Regions from separate parts of the Homo sapiens genome. Here all the other regions are linked to region 1. Evidence: promoter capture Hi-C in 16 types of primary human blood cells and fetal thymus (Javierre and others, 2016). All regions are on one chromosome and are shown on one strand. The core of a region is centred on a gene start or on the middle of the fragment in contact, and the rest is flanking DNA. Distances in the headings are between cores, read along the strand shown.

Region 1 (4,176 bases), core at 879-3,378:
TGACACAATGGCCAGCGGATTTCTTTCCTTTCTCAGCCCTGCCTGCTTAGCAAAGTTCTTTGCAAAGGGATCTGAACTTTGCTGTTCCCTTGGTTAAGGACATCCCGCAATTTCTAGGTGGTAAAGATACATACCTGTCCCTAGTTCTGTCGCTTCCTGTGGCAAAATCCCCAACCAACCAGCTGAGCTATGTACATAGTCCATTTCTAGGCAAGGTCATCTAGGTGCCGTTTTAGGTAGATTTGACTCACAAAGGAAGCAGACAGAGTGGGTCTAGGAGGTGTCTAAAAGGTGCGTTGGTGGCTGCCTTGATGAGCTCCCCCACACCTTGCCACAGGCTACAGAAACATGTTTTAAAAAGACATATGTGCAATAGTTACACATTTCCGCCTCCCATCTTTTCAGCACCTATCTCTGGAGTCTACAGAGTTTCCATCTGTCTGGTCTTTGCTTCAGAACCTGGGTGCTGCTTGCCAGCCCTCTCCTAACCTCGCAGCCCCCCTGGCTCTCCATACGTGGTTCTTGACATGAATTGATCCGGGCTGTCTCTGTGAATCAGCCTCAAGCCGAGACTCTGCATTAAAAAATATATATATTGAAAGGTTCGTGGTGAGGCTGCCGAGTTAATGCTAACAAAGGACTTCAGAGGGCACTGTCTTTCTTTGTTTGCAAGGAGCGAAATTTCTCGGCGCAAATACCAGGAAGGAACAAGGATAAAGGAAAATGAAATTAGAATGAAGAACTGACAGTCTTGGTTTCAGCAGTCTGGACTCTGGAAGCGCCATGTGGGGCCTCCTTAGCCAGTTTAAATCGCTCCTGCGCCTAGTGTTTTAAAGCAAGCTGGGAGGCGAAGCGCGGGCGCTTGGGGACGCGGGGACCCGGGGACGGAATAAACTCTGTCGTGGGGCCCTCACTCTCGAGCTGCAGAGCTGGGACATTGTTGCTAAGTGACTACGAGCCAGGCAATTCACATCTCCCTGGGCCTCGGTTCCCCACCTGTAAAACAAGGGGGCTGGACCGGTCATCTATCCCGTTCATTTATAGACTTAGCTCCAAATACCGAATAAAAGACAGATATTTTAACTCCCAGTGGAAAGACAAGCCTCTAGTTGCAAAGATAAATGGGATTCGTAAAAGTGATCACCACGCGAGATTATTTTTCGAATCGCCTTCCCTTCTCCTGACACGCGGGACTATTAAACGTGTGTGTGTGCTGGGCCATTTCTTTACTGAACTCCAAACTAACACCACCGAGCGATAAAAAACAGGAGAAGGTGATGGAGGCTTAATCGCTAGGAGAGGAGGCGGCGTGGCTGCTGCTTTGAGGAGTTCACTTTGAATCAAGCGGCCGCGGCGATTGGCTGAAAAGCACGTGGTGCGCGCCCCGCAGGACTGCGCCCCGGCTGCCCCTGCAGTCGCCTGGCTTAGGGCAGAGTCCAGCCGGGGGTGCCGCACCCACTGGGGAGTGGGGAGGGAGGACACATAGGAAATGCCTGGGGCTGGAGTCTCTTTGGCTCTCTGCCAGCAAGAAACTTAAACGTCCTGGCTTGCTCAACCCGAGTGTCCCTAAACTGTCCAGACTTTTGCCCGTCCATTGCCACTATCTCTCCCCACTCTGGGTGTCCTACCCAAGGCGCTGTCTATGCGTGCCCAGGGCCTGTCCTGCGGATACCCAGCTCGCCCCTTGCAGCCCTTTTTAGAGCATCTCGCGGGCTCTGGCATCACCAAGCGCACAGCCCCGGGCTGCGCTCCCCTAAGGTGGGTCCCTCAGATCCGGGGCTGTCCATTAACCAGGCTGGCCCAAAGAGGCGCAGACACTCGAACCCGGGAAAACTTATTTTATTCTCGGTTCCCGGGGTTGCAGCTGCCAGCGGCTGAGACAGTGCGTCCGCTTTGTCTCTCTGCACTCCCCGCAGCCCCCCTCTCCCGCTTCCTCTCCCGATTAACTCCCCCGACACGCTCTTCTCTAGCTCCTCTCCTCCTCCCACTCCTTCTCCTCCTCTTCCTCCTCCTACACCACAGGCCGCGCTAATGCGCTTCCTCCCTCCCCCGGTGTCGGTCTCTTTGCATACGCGCCCCCTCCCCTCCCCGCCGCGCCACTTATAGCGGGGCGCACGGCGGCGGGGCGCAGACTGCTCTGGCAGCCGGAGAGGAGGCGGTGCGGCGGTGGCGCTGCGGAGACCCGGTCCAGACGCCTGGCGGCCGCCGGCACACAAGGCGCTTTCTAGCTCCCTCCCCCGAGCGCACAGCCCGCCTCCTTCCGCGGCGCCTGCAGTGGCAGGCTTGCTCTGCCCTACCGTGACGCGCTCCGGAGACGCTCTGCGGGTCCTGGACACCGGGTCCGCGGCGTGGGGACGACAGACGGAGGCGAACGCCATCGGTAGCCGGTCCGCGAGCCATCGTTCGGGGCGCAGTCCTCTCCCCGGCTGGCCCTCCTTTCTCCGGGGCATTCGCCACCGCTTCCCTGGGCTGAGACGACCGGTTCGTCGCCTCCTTGCCCGTGACCGTCGCTAGAACTCAGTTGTGCGTTGCGGCCAGTCGCCACTGCTGTAAGTTTCCCCCACTGCCCCGGACCTGTTGCAGGCGCTGCGGGCTTCAGGGGCTGCTTCGGCTGCAGGGGTGTGTTCGCGAGGGGTGAGCGTGCTCCGAGCACTCGGGAGCTTCGACTAGAGGGCAAGGGGAGCTCTTCTCGGTGCGGAGATCACGGTGCCCGCCGCTGCCCTCCCACAGCAGGCAGAAGCCGGGCATCGCCGGAGAGGTCGACCGGCCTCCCCTCCGCGGTGCAATGTCTGGGGCGAGCCGCTGGGGAAGCGAGGAGCCGAGCTAAGGATACAGTCAGCCTCTCTCCTCTGCGGAAAGCAGCGCTTTCCTGGGGGTGAATGTCGCGCTGCGTCGCTCCCCGCAGCCTCCAGGGCCGAGCGCGCGGGATGGTTGGCCCACGTTGCATCCTCCCCGGCTTGGAGGAAAGTTGGGGCCATGCACAGACACCCTGAGTGCGGGCATGTTCACTGCGGCGGAAATGTCTATAGAGAATGAATGAAAACTGCTTTCTGAAAAACTAGTTTCTTGATCTGTCGTGTTAACATTATTAGTTACAAAGGATAGGAATTGGTGGGCCTGGAGATGAAACACTGAATTTATCCACATGCGGTTTGGTGTCACACAGGCATGGCCAGCTTGTTAAATAGCGTTGCAAGTGTTAATAAAAAGACTCTGGCAAGAAGCTACTTTTGTTAACAAGATCTTTATAATGTTCTATTGTTACCGGTAATGTAAATGCCCAGAAAAAAATCTGCTTAGTTTCTCTTTTGATTGGATTGAGATCAGGTTCAAAACCTGGAGAAGGGTGCGGGACGCTAAGCATTGGAGGCAGAGAGCCTGAGTTAGGAGCATGAAGTGAACTGAAGTTACTGTAACTGAAGCCCTTTTGATGTTCACAGTAATAGCAGCCCTTTCTCTGTCTTCTTTGCAGACGTAGGTTAAGTACATGTGTGCATTTTCTTGGCCACTTACTTGGTATGCAAATGTGATTTCTCTGGGGGCTTAAAAATGCTCGAAAGATGATTCATTTTATGTTGAAGGTGTGTTCAGTGACTTGTATACATGGTTTCTGCTGATATTTTGAGGTTTGCACAGTTTTAAACCAGAAAGCAAGTATTTCCTCTTGGGTTTCCAAGTTTACTTTTTATTTTAATCAAACATTGTTGCAAGAATGTTGATTGTGATTTTGACTGTGACGTGCTTTTCCATCTGGGTGGTATCCAAGATGACAGGCTAGGCTCTTCCTTCTGGCTTGTTGGGCCAACCTGGAACATACAGGAGCATAAACACAGGATGCGGAGAGATGTAGATCCTATATCCTAAGGTCTTCTAAGCAAATTGTTTTCTTAGGTGTAAGTCTGGTTGTGAATGTTGTTTTGCACCATCCTGAATTTAATGTTCAAGGAAATGTGTTCTGGGCCTAGCATGATTCCAGCTCAATGTGTAAGCATTTTGGTGCCTGTGCACCTAGTTTCAGGGAGCCTCATTCTTCCTTCACTCAGGGCAGCATTTGCTCTGAGAGAGGCGGCAGATTCACAAGAGTAAGTAGACAGTCTATTGAGGTTTAGGTTTAAAGTCTTCCTCCAGATACTCCAGATTGAATGTACTAATTAAAATAGCAACTACAGTGGTGGA
Region 2 (4,176 bases), core at 1,247-3,746, 790 kb after region 1:
TTGACTAGGCTGGTCTCAAACTCCTGACCTCAGATGATCCGCCCGCCTCTGCCTCCCAAAATGCTGGGATTACAGGCATGAGCCACCGCACCGGGCCTAAAGGGCTGAAAGAAGTTCCTGCTATGCAGATTGAAAATTGACACAGTGGAACTTCTGTTAACACTCAGATCCTCAGATTTGAAGAAAGAGGAGGAGAAGGAGGAAATACATACAATAGATTTAAGACAGATGGTGGCAGTAAAATAATCAAGTCATGCCATATAATCTTTAAGAAATTAGAACAGAGTGTCTGCTGAAATGAGCCTGCAAGGTATAGAGTGAGCTCATTTTTTACATGGATGTCCCCTTTTCTAGAAACTAAGTGATTAATACAAATAAGAGAATATCAAAGAAGGCATCATCTCAGGTAAATACCTGTAACATGACCAAAGCAAAGCATTAGGTATGGCTTGGGATCTTATTGGCATATCCAACAAGATAAGATAGCAGGAATAGAGTGGGTGAGATGAAAGATCCACTCTACTAGATACACCAAGGCATATGACTGAGAGAGTAAGATGCTTTCAGGATGTGGACCAAGAAAGATTAAAGAATAGAAAGGAACAGAAAACAAAAACAAGAGTGACAGAGAACGAAGAACCAGATAAAAAGAAACTTCATAAAGATGCCATCAAAGTGAAAATATTTTATAGGCTACTATTTAGCCAAGTATAACATTGGCTCCTTCGGTCTTAAATCTCTCTCCTAATGACAAATGAATATTTTTTATATTTTTAATTTAAAAAATTCTTGATAACAATCCATTATTTTTCCAGTTGTTAAAAAGATGACTGTTAATCAAAATGATGACCAAGATGAAGATCAAATTCCAGAATGAGGAAGTAAATTGCTTAAATGAGATAATAAATGTAAACTGCTTAAAACAGTACAAGGCACATACAAATGTTCAATATTTGTCAGTAATTACTGCTTTTGCTATCATCATCCTCATTGCCATTGTCACGAAGTCAACTTGATCATCATCCTATCTTTCAAGGGCATTCTTAATCTTCCTCTTTTGTATCATTTGAAAGTTTCTATTCTGGTTTCAAAAAAAAAATAGAAATGATCCAAAGGAGGCTTTTTCTTATTAATACTTTGATTCCAGGATTTAAAACGAAACACCCCATCTTGATCCGTATACTAAAACGTTTAAAACGTTTCAAAGTTTTAGTATTAATCTCAAACAAAATTAAACCATTTCACTCTTTTCAGATGGTCTCTTAAAGTCAAACATGTGTGCCATTCTGGCACTTGTTTTGCATACAACCCTGGGGCTATTTCACAGTGTGACTCATGGGCAGTTAGTTATTCAACACCAACAGAAACCAACAATCATGCTTGCACACTGGTCTGCTTCCCAAGCTATACTCCAACAACAGTTTTACCTTCTAGGAGAAAGAGAAGCTTAGGTTAAATCTGCATCTCAACCAGGAAACTGATCATGCTTAAAAGTCTTCTGCATTGTTTATTCTTTGTTTCCAGCTGAAGGGCTACTAGGCAAAAATCCATAGAGAGACAGTAGGGATGTTTAGGCACTTTCTATCATTGACCACCCAGGGTTCTGTTACTAAAGTAAGTCCCCTTGTCATGGTGGAATAGAGCTGGAGAAAACATGTTGTCTTTCTAAAACAGGTGGTCCCCTCACACTGCTCCCCTTGAGGGTATTTGGCTTTGAAGATACCCAGACAGAACATGCTGTCCCCAATCCTGAGGCCTGCACAGCCAAGGACTGAAAGGGGAGGGCTGGCAGATCTATCCTGATACAGATCCCAGAGGGAGCAAAGGGTCTTAGGCAGGCTTGTTACATGGAAACCTCTCATGAACTAGTGAACAGATAGCAAAAATGATGTGTGGACATTTCCAAAGAAGGATCATGCAGTTCCTCAGGAAAATTGGAATAGTTAAAAGTACCTGTTTTCTCTTGGTGGCTCCGATAAGCTGTAAGCTCTTTGCTCTACAAGACACAGAACAATAAAATGAAAACTAAGGCACACAAACTGGCAGTCATATGTTAGTCTGAAATGCATACTCAACCATATTGTATCATTATACACACTACCAGCTAGAAAATAATGAGAAAATGAGTTACCTTATATAAGTAAGGCATTGCTCTGGATTTTTTTAAATCACTTTCTGTAATTTAAAGAGGGTAGGGAGAAACATGGCCAAAATATGCCAACATTTAATGACTTCATGAACTAAGTTAGCATCAGCAAGGGACAGCAAACATTTTCAGAAGTGCAGAAAATTAGCTCTATCTTTTTGGATACTTTTCACTAGAGTCATCCCTATTCTTCATAACACTAATGCCCTAACATACAGAACCAATAAATAACTGCTTTTAAACAAAGCTCAAATGAAGTCTTGAAGGACAGCATAAGAAGAGTTAATTTTCATATAGCTGCAATGTCCTCATAAAATCCTAGCAGCAGCAAGTTCAGAGATGTGCTCTGTGGCTCATGGGAAAGGGAGGACCATTTTTTTCATTGGACTTGTGGAGGGGGCCAGAAGGGAGGTTCATGCAAGCAGCTTGGAGCCATCTTGTTTCCAGAGTTGAAATACTTACTACAGGGGTGGAGTAGAGACACTGATTTAGACAGTGAGAGAGCCTGAAGGAGGGGGCAGTCACTGTGGAGCACACCATCTACAGGGCAGGGACAAATCCTTCACTCTCACAATCCAGAACAGTGAAGAGGCATAACTAGGTTGCAAAGGGAAATGATACATAAGGAGGAAAACAAATACATATCCCCTGAAATGGGTAATATCAAATGTTGCACCTAATACTATCTTGTATGTAATAGGAAATCTACTTTGAAGAATTTGAAGCCTTTATTTTATAGCCATTATCAAGTGTTCCTCAAATTAAGTCATAGGCAGAACTCACTATTCTTATGGTAAATAGGCTGAAGTACCAAGAGAATAAGCCACCAACTGTTCAAAATCCAATTAAATTCCATCCATCAGCTCACAACGTTTTCAAAAGTATGTTTACGTCATTCCTCAAATTCTTAAATGCTGAACCCCTTTGTCCCCCTTGGTGAGACTGTAGTTATCATTTTAATATTGGCAATGTTCCTTTCTGCCTAAATCTATAATAGACCAAAGGGAATTATAAAACTGGATTTTGTTTTATGTATACAAACATCAAAAATAAAGTTGCCATCATCGTACTCTTGGCTCAAAAAAAAAAAAAAGACGCATGAGAAATTACAGTAAGTAACTCTTTGGAAGTGACAAGGAAGACAGAACATCACAAATAATAATAAAAAGGACCGAAAGCATCCTAGGTTTGTATATCTGCATTACAGCTCTCATATGGGAGCTTCCCTCTGGGACATAAGGAGACTTGGACTCTGTTCAAATAGACCTGAAAATTTTTAGGACTATTCAAAACTCATCAAGAAAGGATTTATGGCAACACAAACCTCAATTTACTTTTGATTAATCCAAGCCGACTAAACAATGAAACATTAGAATATATCTTTGCATTAGGCAAGCTTTCACATTTGTGCTTTGATTACATAAACACAGATAAAATTATTCCTTCTTCATTAGTGGTTAATTTATTTTTCATAGTCCTATGGTATTGACTGACCTAAATGGTATCAATCCAAATGTTTGCAGCCATATAAGTCTATCCACTGGAATTTTCATATATTTAGTGAGTAGACTCAACCTAAATTGCCTGGTTCTAACTGTTACCTTCTGGATAGTATCAAACTTCACTCAAGTAGCCTTGTCTTTAAATATACCGTCTAAAGATAAGGTTTCGTTTACTGAAAACCAAAGCAGTTGAGATCAGCTTTTTATTCTAACTCATATGCAAAGGTTTCAGGCTTGCATGTAAGGTAAAGACACCCTTCCTTGATCATTAAAGAATAAGTAAATTAGGGCTATTTTCCCTTGTGAACAATAAGTTTCCTCTTAATTGTGTGGTCAATAATTTCAAACTCTAGAGATATCTGACTTCATAGATCAAGGACCACAGATCTAAAGGCAAAGCCATAATTTGAAGCACAGAAAACTTAAACATGTTTTCCAAATAGTAACAATGTGAGGTTAATTCATCAGCTGGGACTATCAGTGAAAAGGTGTCGAGCTATTAAAAATACACCAACCTAAACTAAGGCT
Region 3 (4,176 bases), core at 663-3,162, 770 kb after region 1:
AGGGCTAATATCCAGAATCTACAATGAACTCAAACAAATTTACAAGAAAAAAACAAACAACCCCATCAAAAAGTGGGTGAAGGATATGAACAGACACTTCTCAAAAGAAGATATTTATGCAGCCAAAAGACACATGAAAAAATGCTCATCATCACTGGCCATCAGAGAAATGCAAATCAAAACCACAATGAGATACCATCTCACACCAGTTAGAATGGCAATCATTAAAAAGTCAGGAAACAACAGGTGCTGGAGAGGATGTGGAGAAATGGGAACACTTTTACACTGTTGGTGGGACTGTAAACTAGTTCAACCATTGTGGAAGTCAGTGTGGCGATTCCTCAGGGATCTAGAACTACAAATACCATCTGACCCAGCCATCCCATCACTGGATATATACCCAAAGGACTATAAATCATGCTGCTATAAAGACACATGCACACGTATGTTTATTGTGGCATTATTCACAATACCAAAGACTTGGAACCAACCCAAATGTCCAACGATGATAGACTGGATTAAGAAAATGTGGCACATATACACCATGGAATACTATGCAGCCATAAAAAATGATGAGTTCATGTCCTTTGTAGGGACATGGATGAAATTGGAAATCATCATTCTCAGCAAACTATCGCAAGGACAAAAAACCAAACACCGCATGTTCTCACTCATAGATGGGAATTGAACAATAAGAACACATGGACACTGGAAGGGGATCATCACACTCTGGGGACTGTTGTGGGGTGGGGGGAGGGGGGAGGGGGGAGGGATAGCATTAGGAGATATACCTAATGCTAAATGACGAGTTAAAGGGTGCAGCACACCAGCTTGGCACATGTATACATATGTAACTAACCTGCACATTGTGCACATGTACCCTAAAACTTAAAGTATAATAATAACAAAAAAATAAAAATAAATAAAAAAACTTGAAACTAATAGCACAATTCTTAAAAGGAAAAATAAACTAGACTTCATCAAAATTAGAAAATGAGAAGACAAGTTACAGATTTAGAGAAAGTTTGTCAATCACATATATGACAAGAACCAATGTCTAGAATATGTAAACAAACCTTAATATTCATCAATAAGAAAACAAACAATCCAATTAGAAAATCAGCAAAAGACATAAACAGAAATTTCACTGAAAGGGATATATAGATGGCAAATAAGCACATGAAAAGATATTTAATATCATTAGCCATGAGGGAAGTGCAACTTGAACCATAATGAGATATTACTTTATACCTCTTAAAATAGCCAAAATTAAAAATAGTGTCAATATCAGATGCTGGTGAGGATGTAGAGAAACTGGATTACTTGTACAGTGTTGATGAGAATGTAAAATGGTACAACCACTCTGGAAAACAGTTAGCAGTTTCTTACAAAACTGAACATACAACTCCCATACAACCCAGAAATTGCATTCCTGGGCATTTATCCCAGAAAAATGAAAGCTTAGGTTTGCACCAAAATCTGCACCTGAGTGTTCATAGCAGCTTTATTTATAAGAGCTAAAAACTGGAAACAAGAAGATATCCTTCAACAAGTGAATGAGTAAACAGTGATATATCAATAGCATGGAATACCACTCAGCATAACTCCCCCATTTTCTGCATACAGACCAACAGCTGAACTCCATCGCTGTAAATGATAGGATGAAACAGCTTCAAAAAACAGTACATTTGGAGAAGATGGCATTCTAGCATCTACCCAGGGAAAGCCATGCTAAAGCAACTGCAGATGGAGCTCCCTGCCTTTCCAAGTGTTGCAGACCACTGTAAAACGTGACATTCAGGTGAATTCCTGATTTTTTTTTCCTTAAGTGGCCCATTCATTCAATAAATATTTATAATATCATGCACTGTTCCAGGTGCTGAAATATAGCAGTAATCAAATAGCCAAGAATCCCTGCCTTACTGGGAGTTACAATCTAACGATGGTAAACACATCCTCAGAATGTCACTATGAATGTTTCAAAATATCATTTTTTTTACTCTTGTTGATGAAAGGGCAGATTTTGATTCAAATCCCACTTACGTCATAAAGGTCAAGGACTTTAAGCTCTTCTTACCTGTTGTACCAAAATATCTCCAATTCGGTCGATCACAAAATTCCTGTCGCTGCCAGCACAGGATTCCTGCCTTCGTTCCTTCATACTGTAGAAGAAATGCCTGTGGATTTCAAGCAACTCATCTAAACAGGGGAAAATTTTATCCACGGTGCTGTGGTCCAGCTGCAGCTCCTCTTTCATGCCTTTCCTGAAGATCTCAGACATGATGAACAGGGTCTGGATGTGATGCATCTCTGTTTGCATTAGCTCTGAAATGTGTGAGCACACATAAGCCTTAAACAAGCTTTAAAAAGCAAGTTTCGCTATTAAACTAAATTAGTAACTCAACACTATATGTTACGCAAATAAAAAAGAAATGTTTAGGAATATCAAGAATATTCCAATATAAAAGTCAACATTAAACATTTCATTCACTCTAAAATATTAAACCATTTTCTTTTATCCAGATATTAAAGAGGACATATATGTCAAGTCCAATATACAAGAATCTAACGTATCTGAAACTCAATAATATAACTAGCTAGCATCTTTAGATACCTTCAGCTAGGAACTAGGTCTTATTCCACCCTGAATGCCCTATGAAATACAACTTAGTTTGTTGGCTTTCTTTCTTCCTTTCTTTATTTGATTTTTGCATTGAGCAGGAGCACAATTAATTTGGTGAAATGAATGGAACTAAAGAAAGTTCTTCAATGCAGATAACCATAGGTCCTTTCTATGGCAGAATCTGTCTCCAAAATTCCACTTTCTCCAGAGGAAAACAATGCATCACAATCAATCAAAGGACATCATCAAGAAAGTGAAAAGAAAACGCACAGAATGGGAGAAAATATTTGTAAATAATTTATCTGATAAGGAACTTGTATCTAGTATATTTTTAAAAATCTTATAACTCAACAATATAAATAAATAAATAACCAATTCAAAAATGGTCAAAGGATTTGAACAGATGTTTCTCCAAAAGGATATACAAATGGCCAATAAGAACATGAAAAGATGCTCAACTCCATTAGCTATTGGGGAAATGAAAATCAAAACCAAAATGACACATCACTTCACACATATTAGGCTAGTTATAATAAAAAAGCAACAAACAGGTATTGGTGAGGATGTGGAGAAACTGGAACCCTCATACATTGCTGGTGGGAATGCAAAATGGTATAGCTGCTTTGGAAAACAGTCTGGCAGTTTCTCAAGTGATTAAACGTAAAGCTACTACTCTATGACCCCAAAAGTGGAAAAACCCAAAATGTCCATCAATTGATGATTAGGAAAACAAAATAGGATATTCATCATCCATAAAAAGGAATGGTGTACCCATACATATTACAACTAGGATGAACCTTAAAAACAGTATGCTAGGTGACAAAAGCCAGCCGCAAAAGACCACATATTGTACTATTCACATAAAATGTCTAGAATAGACAAATCTGTAGAGACAGAAAGTAGACTAGTGTTTGCCAGAGGCTGGCGGAAGGGGTAAATGGGGAGTGACTAGTAACATGTACAGGATTTTTGAAGTGATGAAGATGTTCTGAAATTAGACAGGACCTGATGGCTACACAACTTCGTGAATATACTAAAAACTACTAGATTGTGTACTTGTAAAGGAGTGAATTTTGAGCAGGTGAATTATACCTCAATTTTTAAAACGCATCAGGAGAGAAAATAACAACTCACAATTTACAGGTGCACCAAACGTACTAGTTGTACATTAATGAGTATTTCCAAACTTACCGCAAGTTTTGGGAAAGAACCTTAAATATCAGCCATGGAGAGTCAGCAAGTCTAAATATAGCTTTAATATTTTGTCAAAAATAAAAATTTCTTTAATTGGAAATCTACCAACTTTGAATTATTATTTCCTATGTTTTTAGTGCCTACTCTATGCTAAGCACTTACCTGTATCATTTCATTTAATCTTTTAACCCATTAATACATTATGACCCAGAAAATAGGAATGATTTTCCTTATCTTTTAAAGAGAAACAGTGAGGAAGAGAAGGTAAAGAATTTGCCCTGGAATGCAAGCCTTTCTGACACAAAAGACCATGTAATAATTCAACCCAATGGGTTAGAATACTTTTAATAATATGAAAT
Region 4 (4,176 bases), core at 1,044-3,543, 750 kb after region 1:
CTCCGTAAAACATGAGCTAAAGGAAGCAAGAGTACTAGGTAAACCTTTCTCCACTTCCAATCTTTTCAAAAGAGCTGTAGAAGTTGATACAATCTCCAATGGAGACGGTATGGAAAAGAGAGGATGGAAAAAGAGGAATTATAGGCATGCTCATCCTTAAGAATTGGTGGTTTAGGCCGGGCCCAACGGCTCCCTCCTGTAATCCCAGCACTTTGGGAGGCCGAGGCAGGTGAATCACTTGAGGTCAGCAGTTCAAGACCAGCCTGGCCAATGTGGTGAAACCCCATCTATACTAAAAACACAAAAATTAGCCAGATGTGCTGGTGTGCGCCTGTAGTCTCAGCTGCTTGGGAGGCTGAGGCATGAGAATTGCTTGAACCTGGGAGGCAGAGGTTGCAGTGAGCGCACTCCAGCCTGGGCAACAGAGCAAGACTCCATCTCAAAAAAAGAAAAAAAAAAGGAATTGGTTGTTTAAAAACTGAACTTTTTAAAAGACAGAACAATCAGAGAAGAAAAATATCAAAATGCCATAGTCAAGGCAGGAGAAGTTTTTCTAAGAGAGCATGAGATAGGAAACTATGTCAAATGTCAAAGAGACTGAGAAGGAGGGAGGCCCTAAAAAGTCCATTAGACTTGCAATACTCTTTCAATAAGGTGACGGAACAGAAGCCCAGAAACTCAGAAGCCCAGCCCATGGACTATAAAAGTGACTACAAAAGATACGAATAAGTGGCAAGACCTTTGATTCCCCAGGCGTAACCAATCCTTTTTGCTACTGTCATGTGGGTCACAGCAACAAAATGGTCTACAAGTTCTTGCCTCTTCTCACCAAGCAGATGAGCCCTTGGTGGGTGGGAATGGGTCTCATTCATCTTCATGCACCTAGCACATAGCCAAGCATAGAGTAGGCACTCAATAAATGTTGGTAGGACTAGTTTCACATAAGTCCACCACAGGGTAATAGGAAGAAAGTCTAAAATTTGGCATGTACGCCATGATTAAACCACCTCTTCTACCAACATCTACTGTGATCCTCCAATGTCTTTTTCTAAACACTGGGGATTCAAAGAGGAACAGCACACTGATGATGCTTGGTAGGTAGATGTAGTTGAAAGAATGGCCAAAAGAATGACTTCAAGATGAACAGTTTGGGGGATAATATGAAGAATTCTTCTTTGGTCTGTGGCTTCCACCAGTGTTTACAGAGCTGGTTGCAGTGTGTGGTTTTGCTTCACCATCATGGACTGAGCGACGCCTTTATCCAGAACATGCCACTGTTCCCTCACTGCTGACTCCTTGGTGCTGGCTTGTCGGCTTTCCCAGCATCATACAGCTTGGCCATATCAGAGGCTGTGTGCCATGGTGACCCAGAGTACCTCCTCACCCCACGCTTCTCAGAGTAGCATGAGAGTAAAAATATAATGGGACAAGACCACTAGTCTATACAGCCTGTGCTCAGCCTCTGAAAATGGAAGCAAAAGCAGCCCCATGGCAGAGTTGTTGGAATACTGCCCTCTCTAATTAGGGAGATCCTTGGAGCATTGTTAATCTGGCTTATTCTATTATGGACCTACTCCCTTATCTGTTTCCCTGATGCAATGTGCAATGTACTTTATAGCTTCCTCAGCTGACAAGGTAAACAGCCTCTGTATGTAAAAAGGCAGAGTAGGTTTACTTGCTTAAGACATGAGCAAGAGTGCAATTATTTGAACCAGTTGGTTAGTGTTGCAGGGGAGGGGAGGTGGCAGGGTAAGATCTTTTCAAAGTGAAGAACAGGTAAGTGCAAGGAAAGTAGCATTCATTCGATCACCATCAGACCAGGGGGCATGGGAACCTGTCCATCGGTATTCATACTAACCACGCACAAACACTGGAGATGAACAAACATTCAAATTAACTCTCCAGGAATGGAAGTACCATGTCTGCCTTGGAGGTAGATGTCAAACACTAGTAATGCAAAGGGCTAACCCAGCTTGCAGAGATGTTTTATTTGTGCCACGGCATTTAACAAACAAAGTTTAAAAATCAGTTCTCAGCATTTAAATACTAGAGGATTTCACTTTTTAAAAACTTTACATTTCTGGGTTCTTGGGGAAAGCAGAAGATGAGCAATCCTGGGCCCATATTCTCATTTTAAAACACTGGCTATAGCCAAGTAATCCCTGACATCTTTGAGACAGGGCACAGACTCACTTTTCACTACAGTCCCTACAACTTTCTATTGTCTCATTGCTTCTGACCCTATCACATTCACTCAATCACATTTCTGCCCAATGCCTACAGGCATTAGGAGTTGAAGACCTCTAATGTAGGAGAAGATGAAAGGAGCTGCCATGCTTAGCTGTATTGTTACACCGTATCCATTTTGTGCTGATTCTATTATCCAGGGATTGCATTGTGATAAAGAGATTTTAAAGCTGCTTCCTATTTGGAACTTCAGCCTGCAGGTCCACATGTTCACTGTCTTGGTTGTTTGCTCCTTTTGAATTTGCCTTCTTTGATGTTCAAGAGATTCCTCCTAGACTCAGTATTCTAAGACTTAGTGAACACATCTACTTTTTCTTAACACATTTTGTAGGTTTGGGCTCTGCCCCAATTTCCAGCTGAGTCCTTTATAAAAACAAAAACAAAGCAAAACTGTCTTGTAGGGACCCACTACTCCATCCTCTTGCTACTTTAACTGCTTATCTTCTGGCTACTTCCAAATTCATCACGTTTTCTGTAACATGCAGCAAGACAAGCACCTAGGGAAGAAGTGTTTTCTAAAGGGCACAAGGAGTGGAGAATCTCACTTGTACTAGCTTGAGGAAAACTTTCTAAAATTCTAGGATGGGAGCTAGGAAATCCAGATATCTGTATATCCCTAGCCAAATGCTTCAATTTCCTACAGTGTTAACTATAAGATATTTGTGACACATGGGCTATTGTCAGATAGATGTAACTCAGGAGTGTATGAACAGTAGGGTGCACCTGACTCTTCAAGGATAAAATGATGCTTTCTCTTTTGCTCTCTGATACCACCAAGGGCTTAGCTGTCATTTATGAATGCAGTTACATGTCAGGTTAACACATTTAAGAAATAGTATCAGTATAGCCAAACACATTCCACCAAGAAGAGCTAGGTTGTAACTGTCTTCATTCTGCCATTTGGTGGATTGCATTCCTAATACCTCACTTAATGGTAAATGTTGTCTATGGGTAGCACAGATAATGCCTCAGGAGGTCATATGAGACAAGAGGGAAAGAATCATATTTCCAGGCGCGCTCTAAGTTGAGCATTACAGGATCTGAATCCATATGCTACCTCGTCCTAAAAAACAAGGTAGTTGTATTTATATTATCTACTTCATGATCAGTCAGCAGGACATCTGTCCGGTAATATCATCCAAGAAGCAGAATTTGCTTTTCTTTTAGGTCTTTGGTTTTAAAGAAGCATTGGTTTCTATAAAGATGTGAATTTGTTTCCTGTTCCTACATGGCCCTCACCATCCCACAGGTTAAACAAAATGGTCCCCACCTTCCCACTTATTTCTCAGGTTCTTTAAGAGAATCTCAAGCATCTCAGGTAACAGCATTGAGAAGCTGCTGGACAAACCAATAGGTTTTCATGAAATTTGTAATACAGTTCAAATTGATTGGGAACATAGAGACTTCTTCAAGCCTTCTTATTATCTATATGCTAGCAATTAGATTACTCTAACACACTACAAAAATAGTTTCATACACTGTCTTTAGAAGCTACTATAGTAAAAATAAGAAAGAATCTTCTGTCAACATTAGGCATCAGGATGGTATCCCTTGTCTGGCAGAAGGCACACGATGGCAGTCACGGGGTTAGTAAGTGGGAGAGCAGGGCCAATGGGCATGGAGAAAGCCAGGTGCTGGAAGAGATTGGCTGTGCCCAGCATTCACATTTTAGTTGCTGGATCTAAGGGAAGGGGTTTGGGGGCCGAAGGGGCGGGGAAGAGAGGAGTCTGGAGGAAAGACCAAGATAGCTAGATGGCGTGGGGACATTTGGGAGGCTCAGGGCAATGCCTGTTCACCAACCACTACTGAAGGACTGCAATATTCTCACAGTTGGCTACACTGCTGAACCAGCTGAGTACCAGCCCTGGTTGTGATGACGCAACACTTACTATGCTAATTTAACCTAATGAGATGCTTGTCTCTAAACAC
Region 5 (4,176 bases), core at 691-3,190, 730 kb after region 1:
CAAGTTTCATAAAGTATTTATTCCTGAGAGAATCTTAGGAATCAAGATTTCAGTAAAAGTGAGGTCAAGATTACCACTTCTTTTCTCCCTCCCCTCTCCCATACTCTTTTAATGAGCTAGTACCAAAAACTTCAATTTGCTATGCATGGCATATCTTTAACAACAACAACAAAAAAAGTGGCACTCTATGACATTAAAGTGTTTCCACTTTATTTTAATCAGAGAAAGCAGCAGTTTTTACTTTTGCTAAATAAAAAAGTTGAAAACATATCCATATATACATGAGGAGTTTGCAATAAACATAATTTAGCCAACTTAAAAGGAAAAACAGATTGCAACAGAGATCTTGTAAGCTTATCAACTTCTACAACTTTAGGCACTATCAGTAAAAAAACATACATGCACATAACACAGGAAAATAAATTTCTGGGACGAATAGGATTCTCAAGCATGATTAGAAAAGACACAAATAAATAACTCTTATTAGTGAAATGGATTTTGAATTTACTATATCAAATTTACAAAGAGAGAAGAAGCTCAGCATAACAGAATAGTACTATACTTGCTAAATTCAGTGCCTATAGTATATATTCATAGTTAATTGATCTTCTAAAAGCTACATCTAATAGAACTCTTAAGACAGATCATATAAAGAGAGTCCTTCAAATACTGGAAAAAGAGCACGCTCGCAGTGAGTGTGCCTCCAGGACAAACCCACCCTGGCCTTTCTAGGACAACTTGATTCTGTGTTTGTTCCTTAGGGTAAGGGCATCTCAGGCAGAGTGCAGTGATCCCATAGGACTTGGGCCCTCACATTGTCCTTTTTTTTTTTTTTTTTTTTTTTTTGAGATGGTGTTTTACTTTTGTCACCCAGGCTGGAGTGCAATGGCGTGATCTCGGCTCACTGCAACCTCCGCCTCATGGGTTCAAGTGATTCTCCTGCCTCAGCCTCCTGAGTAGCTGGGATTACAGAGGCCCGCCACCAAGCCCAGCTAATTTTTGTATTTTTAGTAGACACGGGGTTTCACCATGTTGGCCAGGCTGGTCTCGAACTCCCAACCTCAGGTGATCTTCCCGCCTCGGCCTCCCAAAGTTCTGGGATTACAGGCATGAGCCACCGCGCCTGGCCCGCACTGTCCATATTTTAAGTCAAAATGGATATGCGTTATCTCTGAAAGCTTCCAGCTTTGGCTACCTACAAATTGAAAAATCCTCATGAGGTCTTCTTACACAAATCCAAAATGACAGATGTTTGGTTAGTGTCCTAGGAGCCCCCAGGCCCACCCCTGTCTTTGAGAGGCTGCCTCACAGCACCGCAGAAGGTCCATACCTCGGGGCCACCCGGAAGGAGCACCGCGGGCAGGCTCCTCTGCCGGCCGTGCTTCCAGTGGCCCAGCAGGCTCTGCTGGGCCCGCATCCTCGCCTGCTCCCTCTCCACCAGGCGCTGGCCCTCCCTCAGCCGCTCCAGGCTGTGCTGGTACTCCTGGAGCTGGAGGTCCAGCTCGCCCCGGCTCCGCAGCAGCAGCTCCTCCTGCGACTGGCACTCCCGCTCCCGCTCCTGCAGCCAGCTCTCCCTGGTCGCCTGCGCCCGCTGCTGCTGCTCACACCTGCGCAGCCAGCGCCGCTGCTCCTGCTGGAGCTGGTGCTGAAGCTGGTGCACATTGGCCAGCTCCTCATGCTGCCTGTCCGCGTCGCGAGACTTCTGGTCCTGCAAGGGGCCGCCTCGGAGGATAGAGTGGCCGAGAGACAGGCCCTCCTGCTGCTGGAGAACCAGCCTGTGGATCTCAATGTGGCTGTCCTGAATGGTCAAGGCGGCCTGTCAGAGCAGACAGAGGAAAAATCACTGAACACAAGGTTCCATGGTTATTGTTTACCCTTTCGGTTGGAACTACCTCGAAACACAAAACGCAGGCCCGAATTCACTTCTCTTAATATTTCTGGCCTTTTTCTAAGTTACCTCCAAAGGCAAGGTTTTTGGCGTTCCAGAGAGGTGTGTCTACATCTGTCCTAGGGGTAGGACCTGTGAATTTATAGAGAAAAGAAACAAAGCCCAAAAGCAATATCATCCTCTCCTGTGGGAAGGTAGTTTGCTGCTGGTGGTTGGGTGATAGTTAAGCGAGTCTTCTGAATACGAACTCGGCACATAAATTCACAAGGCTGTGCATTCCTGTCCTACATCTCACTCTCTTGCTGAGGTCTCTCCCTAGTCAATCATTCATGAGAACTTAAGAATCCACATAAACCTAGTAGTATCCTTCCTTTGAGTCCCAAACCAGAAATTACTTGAGCTACATTGCATTATGAAGACATAAAAATAAAAAACAACTATTTGGAGACTTTAGGTAAATAATGTTTTTATAACATAATGCCTAAGAATAGCAGTTAATACCATTTTTAGGAGATATGTAAGTGGCTAAAGCTAGTCTCATTACTGTTATATCTTTGTATTATAGCAGGAAGGTCATGCACAAAAAACTAAGCTGAAATTTATTTGTTTAATAGATCGCTAACAGGAGGCTGAAATGATTAAGGGAAAATAGATACTCTAAAGCCCAGAGGACATTACCAACCAGATTAAAAAAACATTTTGAGTTACGGTATCTGCCTATGAAAAGTTTGGCAACATCACAGGAAATAATTACCAAGATTTGGAAGGATTCCACAAAACCAAAGAGATCTCTGTGAATGCCCTTGGAAGCTTTTAATTTTAAAAGTTCCCATTTAGAGTGCAAAGCAGTACAGAAGGGACAAATTGAAAATGGACACATACTGAGTATGTGTGTATGTTTTGACCCCATATGAGAAATCATTTCTCTCCTAGGGATAAATTCACATTTTTCCTTCCTAAGAATTTTTTAAACTGTCCATATAACAGATGTTGGGAAGATGGGGATTTGACCATATGTTCTTTGTCAGCTCAGCAGTTTCCTATACTTTTGAAAGTTAAAGAACTAAGGTATATTTTAAATTCATACTTGTCTTGGAATACGACTCAAAAATGTATTCACTGGGGCCTTTTGAACAAAAATTCATATTTTTAAATTTGGAAACTAATCTTTAAAATTTCAGACACATGAATATTTAGTGGCTTTTGGGAGTTGTTATAAATAAAACAATGATTATCATCCAGAATAGGTATTAATTACTATGATCTTTAAATATGAAATAATTAGCACACAATAAGCCACTCAGGACTCTGTTGATCTGGCTAAAGAAAATTGTAGACTATACATCACCACTTAATTCTAATAAATCTTTAGGGACCAGTATGGTAAGACAAACAAAAATCCCATACTTTATATGTCAAAACTACCACAGACAATAACTCTCACGTAAGAGTTACAGCTACAGTAATTAAGTGCTTCTGTGAGGTATTCTTCATGTCTATCTAACATTTGGGATAAGGCCATTCTTTTCCCTTGCATAGAGCTGGAATCTGAAGATCGGATATTCATCTAAATTTAAATATTCATTTAAAGCTAAATGAATAATCTTCACACTTAAAGTTTACATTTATATTTAGGACAGAGAACAGCACTTGCTTTTCAAGTTTAGGGAAATTCCCAATTCACTCTCTTAACTTTACTTTGCTAGAATATCTGTGTCTTTTCCTTTTAGCCCTGTCTATGCCTCATTTCTAACTCTATTTTCCTGATATAGGGATCAAATTTCATTCCACCTGATTCAAAATTGTTTATGTAAAAACTTCAGTCACATATAAGACATTCAGCTTCAAAAAAGACGACTGTGCCATGAACAGAAATCTTTCAAAGCCCATGGCCTTGGACCAGCTCAGATTAAAATAATTCACTGTAGACTTTGATATTTCCCATGTTGGTTTAACCTAATGTGTTGCAAAAATTAGGTCATTCAGGTGATCCAGCTTTTCCGAACCTTGAATCTACACAGGGCTGCATTCAGGGTTGAAAAGAAGACACATGACCTTGTGAGTGTTTTCATCCGGCAACACTAGCCAGGATGCTCAATGTTTTCATCCCCCAAGTTAATGGCTGGTGCTCAAACTGTATCCCTTCCCAGCTGACATTTAAAAGAAAGATTAGTTGTCTTACATGATACATTGATTGCTAAGAACATCAACTCCAGAACCTCACATCTAACCTAAGACACTAAAAGCATTCTCACTAAATCTTGAACAAGACAAAGAGCTTGCTATTA
Region 6 (4,176 bases), core at 758-3,257, 710 kb after region 1:
ACCTCTAAAGTGAAAGAGTCTAATAAATAACCAGTAAAAATGACTTTAACGAAAGACCTCACTGAAACATGTGATAAAATTCAGATAAGGGGACAAAAAAGACAATTCTAAAATTATCCAGAAAGTAAGAACAGGTTACAAACAAAGAACCCAGAATCGGAAAGGCATCAGACTTCTCAATAGCAACCCTGGAAAGTGGAGTCAAACCCTTGGCAACAGGCTGGAGGAAAATAGTTTTGTATTCTAGAATTCTAAGCCCAGACAAATTATTTAAAAAACAAGTGTCAGAGTAGCAAAAATAAAATGAGAAGGACATTTCAGCTAATCTGGAAAAAATTTCCTTTAATCAGACTTTTTCTTAGGGAGGGCCTGGAGATATGTCCAACCAAATAAAGGAAAATACTATAAAGGGGAAGCATGAGACTGAGGGCACAGAGGTTTCAACACAGGAGAGAGAAGGGATGGCCCTGGGTGACCACGCAGAGCAGGCCTGGAGAGCAACAAGTCCATATTGGAACAGAAGTACAGAGGACCCTAAAGGCAAAACTTCCAGGAAAGAAAATGAAGCGGATAGATGTTGACTATATTGAGTATGTGTAAAATAACACTGATAAGTTGAGAGAGGCATAGGAGCTTTGGAGGAAAACATAGCAAGGAGTAAGGGAGAAGGTATGCAAATAAAAAACAAGGCAGATGGTTAGTCTCAGTAGGATGGAACAGCATAGTCAATCACATTTTGAGTAGTTTCTGCACTTGCAGTTGAGTTTTCTCCACCTAGAAAGAGCTTAGTTCTCACGAATGTCCTTTTCGAATCTTAAAGTGTTCACGTGTCATTGTAAACATGATTTCTCTGAAAACCACTCAAAGTACAAAATCTATTAAAGCTATCCCAAAAGAATTAACTTGTCTATATAATTAAGAGTGAACACATTTGAAACTCCAAAATCTGCTGTGAGTCAGAAAAAACTTTTATGAACAGGAAATTCACAGAAGGAGGAACCTAAACAGCCAATAAAAATGAAATGATATTAAATCTCATTGGTAATCAGAAAAGTATGAAAGAACAAGTTACCATTTCATGCCCAGCATATGGGCAAATTTTAGAAGCCTAACAATGCTATGAGCTGGGTAAGATCTGGGGGAACTGGAGTTCTCATATCTTGCTGCTGATAGTTATATTGTACAACAACTTTGGAGCAAAATCAATCATCGCTGGCAACAGTGAAGACATCCTTACCACTTCTAGGTGTTATACTTGAAATAAACTCTCATTCATGTGACTAAGGAGATGTGCATAAAAAGATGTTTACTGCTCTCCACTTCTAATAGGAAAAAATTGGTAAGATCCCGTAAATGCTCCTTAGTAATAAATATACTAAAATTTTTTCATTAAAGTGAAATATAGCAGTTTAAAATGAGCAATTTGTGTCGCATGTATGAATATGAAAAAAACCAAGTTGCAGAAAGTACATATATATTTAAATAGCTATATAAGCGTTAAAAACAAAAAATTATGATATTTTGTTTTTAGATATAAATATGTAGCATTATAAAAATGTAGCGGTAACACAGACACATACTGTGGAAATCATATCCACCAACTTTAAGATATTTGCTAACCCTAAGTAGGAAAAACAAAGGAAAAGATATGGGTAAGGGCCTTTAGCAATATCTGTAACATTTTATTTCTCTAAAAAAGCAAAAAGGCGAAGATCTGAAATAAATATGGCAAAATGGAAACATTTGTTAATTGCATGCCTAATACATAATTTCTATACTTTAAAAATATTCACGATTAAAACTTTCATATTAAAGAATGTATTAAACTACTGCACACAATTGTGTGGTTTTATTTGGATCCTGAGTCAAAAATAAACTGTGAAAAGTATACACACACATAACATTTGTGAAACAACTGGCAATCTAAACATATGACTATATGTTGATATTATGGAATTATTAACTTTTTCTTAGGTGTGATAATGATTTTAAAAAGAGAGCCTTATCTTTTAGAGACAAATACTGAAATGCTTATGGATGAATAAATACTTATAGATACTGTTTAAGATCCGCTTCAAAATAATACAGTATGTATTGGGGGTAGGAGTCTAGAAGAAACACAATTAGGCATAAGTTCCTGATTTTCTGAAGTTGAGTGATCAGAACATGAGTGGCTATTATATTATAATTTTGTATATGTTTAAAATTGTCCATAATACAATCAGGTAGACAAGAAATATGTCAAAGTCAATTTGTAAATAATCAAAACAAATTAAGATAGTCAATCTTGGAGTCTCTGTTAAGAAGTAGGAACTTTTCTCAGGAGGCTGAGGCAGGAGAATGGCATGAACCTGGGAGGCGGATCTTGCAGTGAGCTGAGATCACACCGCTACACTCCAGCATGGGTGACAGAGCGAGACTCCGTCTCAAAATAAATAAATAAATAAATAAAAAGAAGTCAGAACTTTTTCTGAGCGCGCTGAATTAAATGACATACAGGTCATCAACCTCAAGAATGGGGTAGTATTCTCATGACTCTGAATTCCTCTTAAGGCTCTAGAGACCAGGGACTTCTAAGTACCTTGGCAAAAAAGCCAACTTTCTGGGGAGCGGCCTGCCTCACAACCCTACCCACACTAAAAGAGTTATGCCTCTCATTTTGCTGAGAGAAGAAAAATCAAATTCATTTCTCTGCCAGCTGAGTAAGGCAGGAAATCAACCTAGGAATTTTAATGCTGCATTTACTTCTTACTGGTTCAGTAGAGGGAAAAACAGCTGTTAAAATTCTTAAGCATACAAGATGCAATGTTTTTCTTTGAGCCAGAGAAGAAGGCAAGCAATTAAACCTAACACACCCAAGCTAATTAGTTCTACCTGCTTCTTAATAATTATGTTATTACCAGACTTCTTAAAAATTGGCAACCAATTCTTTTTAATTTTTAATTTTTTTGCTGTTGTTGTTTTTTGAGAAAGAGTAGGACTATGTCACCCAGGCTGGAGTGCAGTGGCGCGATCTCAGCTCACTGCAACCTCCACCTCCCGGGTTCAAGCCATTCTCCTGCCTCAGCCTCCCACGTAGCTGGGATTAAAGGCACCTGCCACCATGCCTGGCTAATTTTTGTATTTTTAGTAGAGACGGGGTTTTACCATGTTGGTCAGGCTCTCGAAAGCCTGACCTCAAATGAGCTGCTGGCCTCGGCCTCCCGAAGTGCTGGGGGTACTTCTAAGGTCTACAAATGATTGTTTTTTCCTCTTTATCAACTACAAAATTATGAGATGTCAAAGAACTTACATACCTATTCTGGTTTGAGAAATTGATATTCACAGTATTCAGGAAAACATAAAACTTTTTTCCTTTTAAAAATGAAAAACATTATTTTTTTAATTCTTATTTGTTTGAAATGACATCTGCTAAGAAACCAAACCCTGAAACATCTTTCCGAACCACAGCCACAGCCTTGCGTTTGTCACTCGTAAATGATTATAATCTTAAAAGTACAACCTAACATATAGACTGTGTTTCGTTTAGTGCAGATATGAATACCCTCAGGTGTTCTTTTTACATTTAAGTTTGTTATAAGAATAAAGGTCCCTCTTCCATATTTCTAGAAATTAAACTTAAACATTTTTAGGAATTATACAATTATAAAATTAGGCAGTTTGTAAAACAGAAGAAAAATTAGGCCCTTAAAGTACCAAAACAGCAATCAAAAGAGAACATAAAGCCAGATGTTGTGGCTCGTGCCTATAGTCCCAGCTACTGAGGAGGCTGAGGCAGGGGGATCACTTGAACCCAGGAGTCTCAGGCCAGCCTGGGCAACCTACTAAGACCCAGTCTCATGATAAATTGCTCTATTCCTTTACTCCTTGGAGCCATCTTTCCCTATGGGAGATGACTTTAAATTGTTTAGTGCATACAAATGATATATAGCAATAATCTAGCTTTTGATATCTGTGCTTCCTGACAACATCTGACCTGTGACTAGCACTGGATCCTAAAGAAAGGTTTTTTTAAGACAGTCTTGTTTTGTCACAAAAACTGGAGTGCAGTGGTATGACCACAGCTTACTGCAGCCTCCCAGGCTCATGTGATCCTCCTGCCTCAGCCCCCCAAGTAGCTAAGACTATAGGTGCACTCCGCCATGCCTGGCTAAGTTTTTTATTTTTTATTTTTAT
Region 7 (4,176 bases), core at 1,036-3,535, 660 kb after region 1:
AGGGACCCCAGCAGCTGGCAGGAGGTGGCGGGGTGTAGAAGCACTGCTCTGAGTAGGCACCAAGTTGACAGTTGGTGAATGGGGCTGCTAATGCTTATGCTTATTAAAGGAAATACTTTTATAAACAAAAATGCTTCATGATAACAATAATCTTAGGCTAATAGGTTTGATAAATTTGTATTTTTCTCTGTGTCTTCTGAAAGCAAAACCCAGCAGCAGATGCTTACATCTAGGCACTCATCATCTCCAGCACTAAGCATTTTGCAAAATAATTGACATCTATAGTTTTGTAATCAAATAAGTTTGAAAAGCAACAACCCAAACTAGACTCACATGTGACCACAGAGCTCTTGTTGTTGAGAATACCAGCAATCTTCATAGCTCTTAAAATATCTTTCTTCACCTGAATCATGATTTGTGCTTCAAAGCATGGAGGACAAAATATGGGCACTGAAGGTGGACAGACCAGGGTTCAAATCATTCCTCTGATGTTTCCCATTTACTCTCCACAGGAACTTCAAGTCATTTCACCACTCTGAACCTCAATGTGCTGATCTTCAAAATGGGAGTGATCATGAAGTCTTCTTCAGCCAAGCCATCACTGAGCCTAGTAAGAAAATTAATGTGTTGAGTTTGGTCCAGTGCCTGGTGAGCAATTAACAAGTGGTGATGTCTTCACTCACCCAAGGGACAATGAAGCAGGCGGGTGCCTACCTGGTAAATGACAGTTGACACTATGGAAAAATCAATATACGTGGGGAAAAATGGCTTTGAAAGTTGGGGTTCCCCTTCTGAGCCAACGGGATTCTTCATCTTGAACAAGAGGCAACTGAAGTCCTCAGTTCATTTGAATATAGGTCCTCCCAGCTCCCCCGAAGACACTGTATTAAAATTTGAACCACAGGCTTTGGTCAGCACCTCCCTGAGCTGTTGCTTTTGAGGAGGGCTTAGAGCTCAGATCTTTGGTAACTAAGCTCTCATCAGCAGAAACAAGAAGGAGAGGACCATGTGCTCTGGGCAAGAAATCAGCCTAGAGCTTAACTCCATCTGTTCCAGTGGTAGGGAAGGGAAAAGGGAAGCATCTGGTTGCAGCTTAAAGCTTCTTATAACCAAGTGAAGTGCCTGCACTCGGCATATAGGAGCCGCATGAAGAGAGAAGGACTGTTACCATCTGCCCTAAGATGGAGACTACCGTCCAGCTATGTGCACCCTGAGACAACTCACTCTCCAATTCTCCACGTTTGAGAATTTCAGGGTGAGTCCTTCCTGCTCACTTCTGATTTTTACCAAAAAGAAGGCCTTTGTCCCAAGGCTTCTCGTCTATTTATTGGTTAACAAGCTTGGTTTCTATTATCTTACAGCCTCCTGTAAAAGGATAAAGGCTCTTTCTCCGGTCCCTAGATGTTATCACCTTGCAGAACAGCGTATGCACACCACTGGCTCACTTCATTTTAGTCTCCTTCCTTCCAGGAAAGATTAAGAAGGTCAGATGTTCTAATTTTCAAGTACTCACTGTCTATAGGATTAATCCCCAACTAGGTTGTTGGGGATGCAGAGATTTTTACATAGGCCAGTGGCTCCCTAGTCTGGATGATTATCAGAATCAACCAGGGTGCAGCCCAGAAATCTCTTGGGGGAGATCTCTCATTTTTAATAGATTCTGCATTGCCTCTTTTGGTAAACATTACTGACTGATTGAATCCAATATCCATTCTCTTCTACCTTGCCACCATTTTCCCAGCCTTGCTGGTGGCCGAGAAAGTGATGGGATTTTGTACTGAACTGTGTGACATAAGCAGAAATCTGGCCACTTATGGAAAGTTTTGCTATGTTGCAAGTAGGGACAGGTCCCTCCCTATCCCCTTCCCATTTCCTGTGCCTTGAAGACAGACTTGATAGCTAGAACTACAGCAGCCACTTTGTGACCATGAGACATGTCAGGAAAGCCAAGGGAATCACAAAGACCTTAGCCAGGACCAAGCCACTGACAAAAGTCAGGAAATATCCAAACTTGTTATGCTTTGAGAAAAATGGACCCCTCTTTAAGCCACCATAAAGTGGGCTTTTAGTTACTCACAGCCGAACACATTTCTAATAAATATACCTTTTCTTTTTCCTTTTTAACTTTTTTTATTCATCTTTCCAGTAGGGTTGGGTAGGATGGGAGCCAGGGATAAAAGGAGGAAGAGAAGGGACAGAGAAAGCCTTATGAGCTGGCTGCTGGTGGAGGGCATGGCCACTGGAGCTGAACTATTTGGGGGCCTGCTGTGTGCTGCTCTCTCACTCTGGACTGGGCATCTTTTCCAGACCTGGCCTGGCACCTTCATGCTGTGAATTACTGTTTCAGATGTGTCCTTCCCAGTCCCTCCATGAGTCCTTTGTGTTCTAGTCCCTCTCCACCTTTTCAACATTTTTTCTAAATGGGAGGTTTCTTAAGGACTACTATGGCTTTAAATTTAAAAAAAAAAAAAAGGCTGAGTGCAGTGGCTCATGCCTGTAATCCCAACACTTTGGGAGGCCAAGGCAGGCAGATCACGAGATCAGGAGATCAAGAACAGCTTGGCCAACATGGCGAAACCCCATCTCTACTAAAAATACAAAAAAAAAAAAAAAAAAAATAGCCGGGTGTGTAGTCCTAGCTACTCGGGAGGCTGAGGCAGGAGAATTGCTTGAACCTGGGAAATGGAGGCTACAGTGAGCCGAGATCATGCCACTGCACTCCAGCCTGGGAGACAGAGCAGGACTCCATCTCAAAAAAAAAAAAAAAAAAAAAAAGAGTGCCATTGGGTAGCAGTAGATGTATTAGTAATCCAACAATACCACTCTAGGGTGACTTTCTTCTTAAACTGTTTTGGGAGCCTGGTTGTATGGAGACAGAGCGGGACTCCATCTCAAAAAAAAAAAAAAAAAAGAGTGCCATTGGGTAGCAGTAGATGTATTAGTAATCCAACAGTACCACTCCAGGGTGACTTTCTTCTTAAACTGTTTTGGGAGCCTGGTTGTATGGCCTTAACCCTCTGGGAGAACAGCCTCCCAAAATATATATCCCTTGGCTGGTTTTTCCTATGAGACAACCATCTGACGAGTGTGGAGTTGAGACAAACCCAATTCCACTATCCACAAACCCAGCTGGGAACGTGGATAGTCCGTGGGAAACAGGCACATCACACATTGGAGTTGTTTGACCAGAGGTCAGAAACTGGTGGTCTCTAGTGAGTCTTTGAAGCTTTGATGGCACTTTTCATAGGCAATCTTGTGCCTGCTCAAATTGGGGTGGGCAGTGGAAAGGTGGGGAGACATGGGGAAGGGGTAATGCCTTTCACTCTCATGCCTGAAGAGAAAGAAACCAATCTTCCAGCTTGGTTTATTGCACTCTCTTGAAAGCCAGGGATAATCATATTCATGTCTCTTTCTGGATAAGCTCTTTATGAGGTTCAGGCTGCCTGCAGTTTTCCCAAAGACTTATCTCAAGCCATTGGCAGACCCGCCTTTCTGCTTCTCCTTCTGACTCCTGCAAAACGAGCTTTTTGCAAAAGGACAACCATTCTGTTTTACGCTTCTCTGTGCTGAAAGGTTTTCCCAAATAGGTAAAATCAACTGATTTCTTTCAGGATATGCTTAATGGTTTCTTCTGAAATCAGCTTTTAAACTTTGTTTTCAGCTATACATCATATTTAGAACACTTAGGAGTCTACAAGAGTCAGAAATGAATAGTTTTCATCTCTAGGTGAATGTGCTTCATATACTGTGATTCTTGGTTGGTCATATGGGACCCTTTTGTAAGGATATTATGATCTTAAAAGAGTAATTGACCTTCCCAGTGTCCTAAAATTTTCCCTGAAGTCAAAGTCCTTCCACTGCCAGGAGATAGAAAATGTGGGCACCTTAAAAATACCTTTTCTGGATATACTTTTACAATAATATGTGTTTCAATGACAATATGGACAGATATGCATGACTGAATGTGAAGAGAATTCTTAGCTCCAAGAAAGACAGGTTGGCAGGGACACTCAAGAAGTGGAATCACAATTCTAGACCTAGATTTAATACCCTCTAGTTTTTTATTTTCCTATTTTAGTTTTGCTGAATCTGTTACCTTTGAATAATAGGGTTAGCTATAATATGAGTTAATATTTTTGAGGCCTTCCTGTGTGTCTAGCATTGCTAAGGCCTTCA

What was found. Contacts are between HindIII fragments. The CHiCAGO score rates a contact against its expected background, and 5 or more counts as called.
Region 2: a fragment that was not itself captured here is called in contact with the fragment with the promoter of ENC1 in region 1 in 1 of 17 cell types (monocytes); the score reaches 6.3 in monocytes.
Region 3: a fragment that was not itself captured here is called in contact with the fragment with the promoter of ENC1 in region 1 in 6 of 17 cell types (activated CD4 T cells, megakaryocytes, naive CD4 T cells and 3 more); the score reaches 6.8 in activated CD4 T cells.
Region 4: a contact is called between a fragment that was not itself captured here and the fragment with the promoter of ENC1 in region 1, in 14 of 17 cell types (neutrophils, naive CD8 T cells, naive CD4 T cells and 11 more). The highest score is 19.6, in neutrophils.
Region 5: a contact is called between a fragment that was not itself captured here and the fragment with the promoter of ENC1 in region 1, in 17 of 17 cell types (naive CD8 T cells, naive CD4 T cells, activated CD4 T cells and 14 more). The highest score is 30.9, in naive CD8 T cells.
Region 6: a contact is called between a fragment that was not itself captured here and the fragment with the promoter of ENC1 in region 1, in 9 of 17 cell types (neutrophils, naive CD8 T cells, total CD4 T cells and 6 more). The highest score is 11.9, in neutrophils.
Region 7: a contact is called between a fragment that was not itself captured here and the fragment with the promoter of ENC1 in region 1, in 1 of 17 cell types (fetal thymus). The highest score is 6.0, in fetal thymus.

What each region holds. Positions count from the first base shown.
Region 1 is chr5:74,638,680-74,642,855 of GRCh38, reverse strand. It overlaps ENC1 (ectodermal-neural cortex 1), which reads left to right and starts at 2,128. Exons shown (of 3, transcript NM_003633.4): 1 at 2,128-2,549. It also overlaps a transcript of HEXB not described here. RefSeq lists enhancers at 429-1,142, 1,143-1,858, 2,320-2,679 and a silencer at 2,020-2,279. The HindIII fragment of the contact is 20,564 bases long and covers 1-4,176 here.
Region 2 is chr5:73,850,470-73,854,645 of GRCh38, reverse strand. ARHGEF28 (Rho guanine nucleotide exchange factor 28) reads right to left here. Exons shown (of 36, transcript NM_001177693.2): 14 at 1,954-1,996. Among named protein-coding and RNA genes, the nearest start is that of ARHGEF28, 230 kb to the right of the region's middle. The HindIII fragment of the contact is 2,096 bases long and covers 1,449-3,544 here.
Region 3 is chr5:73,871,148-73,875,323 of GRCh38, reverse strand. It overlaps ARHGEF28 (Rho guanine nucleotide exchange factor 28), which reads right to left. Exons shown (of 36, transcript NM_001177693.2): 22 at 2,078-2,325. Among named protein-coding and RNA genes, the nearest start is that of LINC02122, 230 kb to the left of the region's middle. The HindIII fragment of the contact is 900 bases long and covers 1,463-2,362 here.
Region 4 is chr5:73,887,823-73,891,998 of GRCh38, reverse strand. All of the region lies in intron 26 of ARHGEF28 (Rho guanine nucleotide exchange factor 28), which reads right to left. Among named protein-coding and RNA genes, the nearest start is that of LINC02122, 210 kb to the left of the region's middle. The HindIII fragment of the contact is 4,754 bases long and covers 1-4,176 here.
Region 5 is chr5:73,907,052-73,911,227 of GRCh38, reverse strand. ARHGEF28 (Rho guanine nucleotide exchange factor 28) reads right to left here. Exons shown (of 36, transcript NM_001177693.2): 34 at 1,331-1,816. Among named protein-coding and RNA genes, the nearest start is that of LINC02122, 190 kb to the left of the region's middle. The HindIII fragment of the contact is 1,520 bases long and covers 1,181-2,700 here.
Region 6 is chr5:73,927,206-73,931,381 of GRCh38, reverse strand. The region is part of intron 35 of ARHGEF28 (Rho guanine nucleotide exchange factor 28); the gene reads right to left. Among named protein-coding and RNA genes, the nearest start is that of LINC02122, 170 kb to the left of the region's middle. The HindIII fragment of the contact is 5,300 bases long and covers 1-4,176 here.
Region 7 is chr5:73,978,796-73,982,971 of GRCh38, reverse strand. LOC105379034 (a long non-coding RNA gene) reads right to left here. Exons shown (of 4, transcript XR_001742745.1): 4 at 140-607. Among named protein-coding and RNA genes, the nearest start is that of LINC02122, 120 kb to the left of the region's middle. The HindIII fragment of the contact is 1,887 bases long and covers 1,342-3,228 here.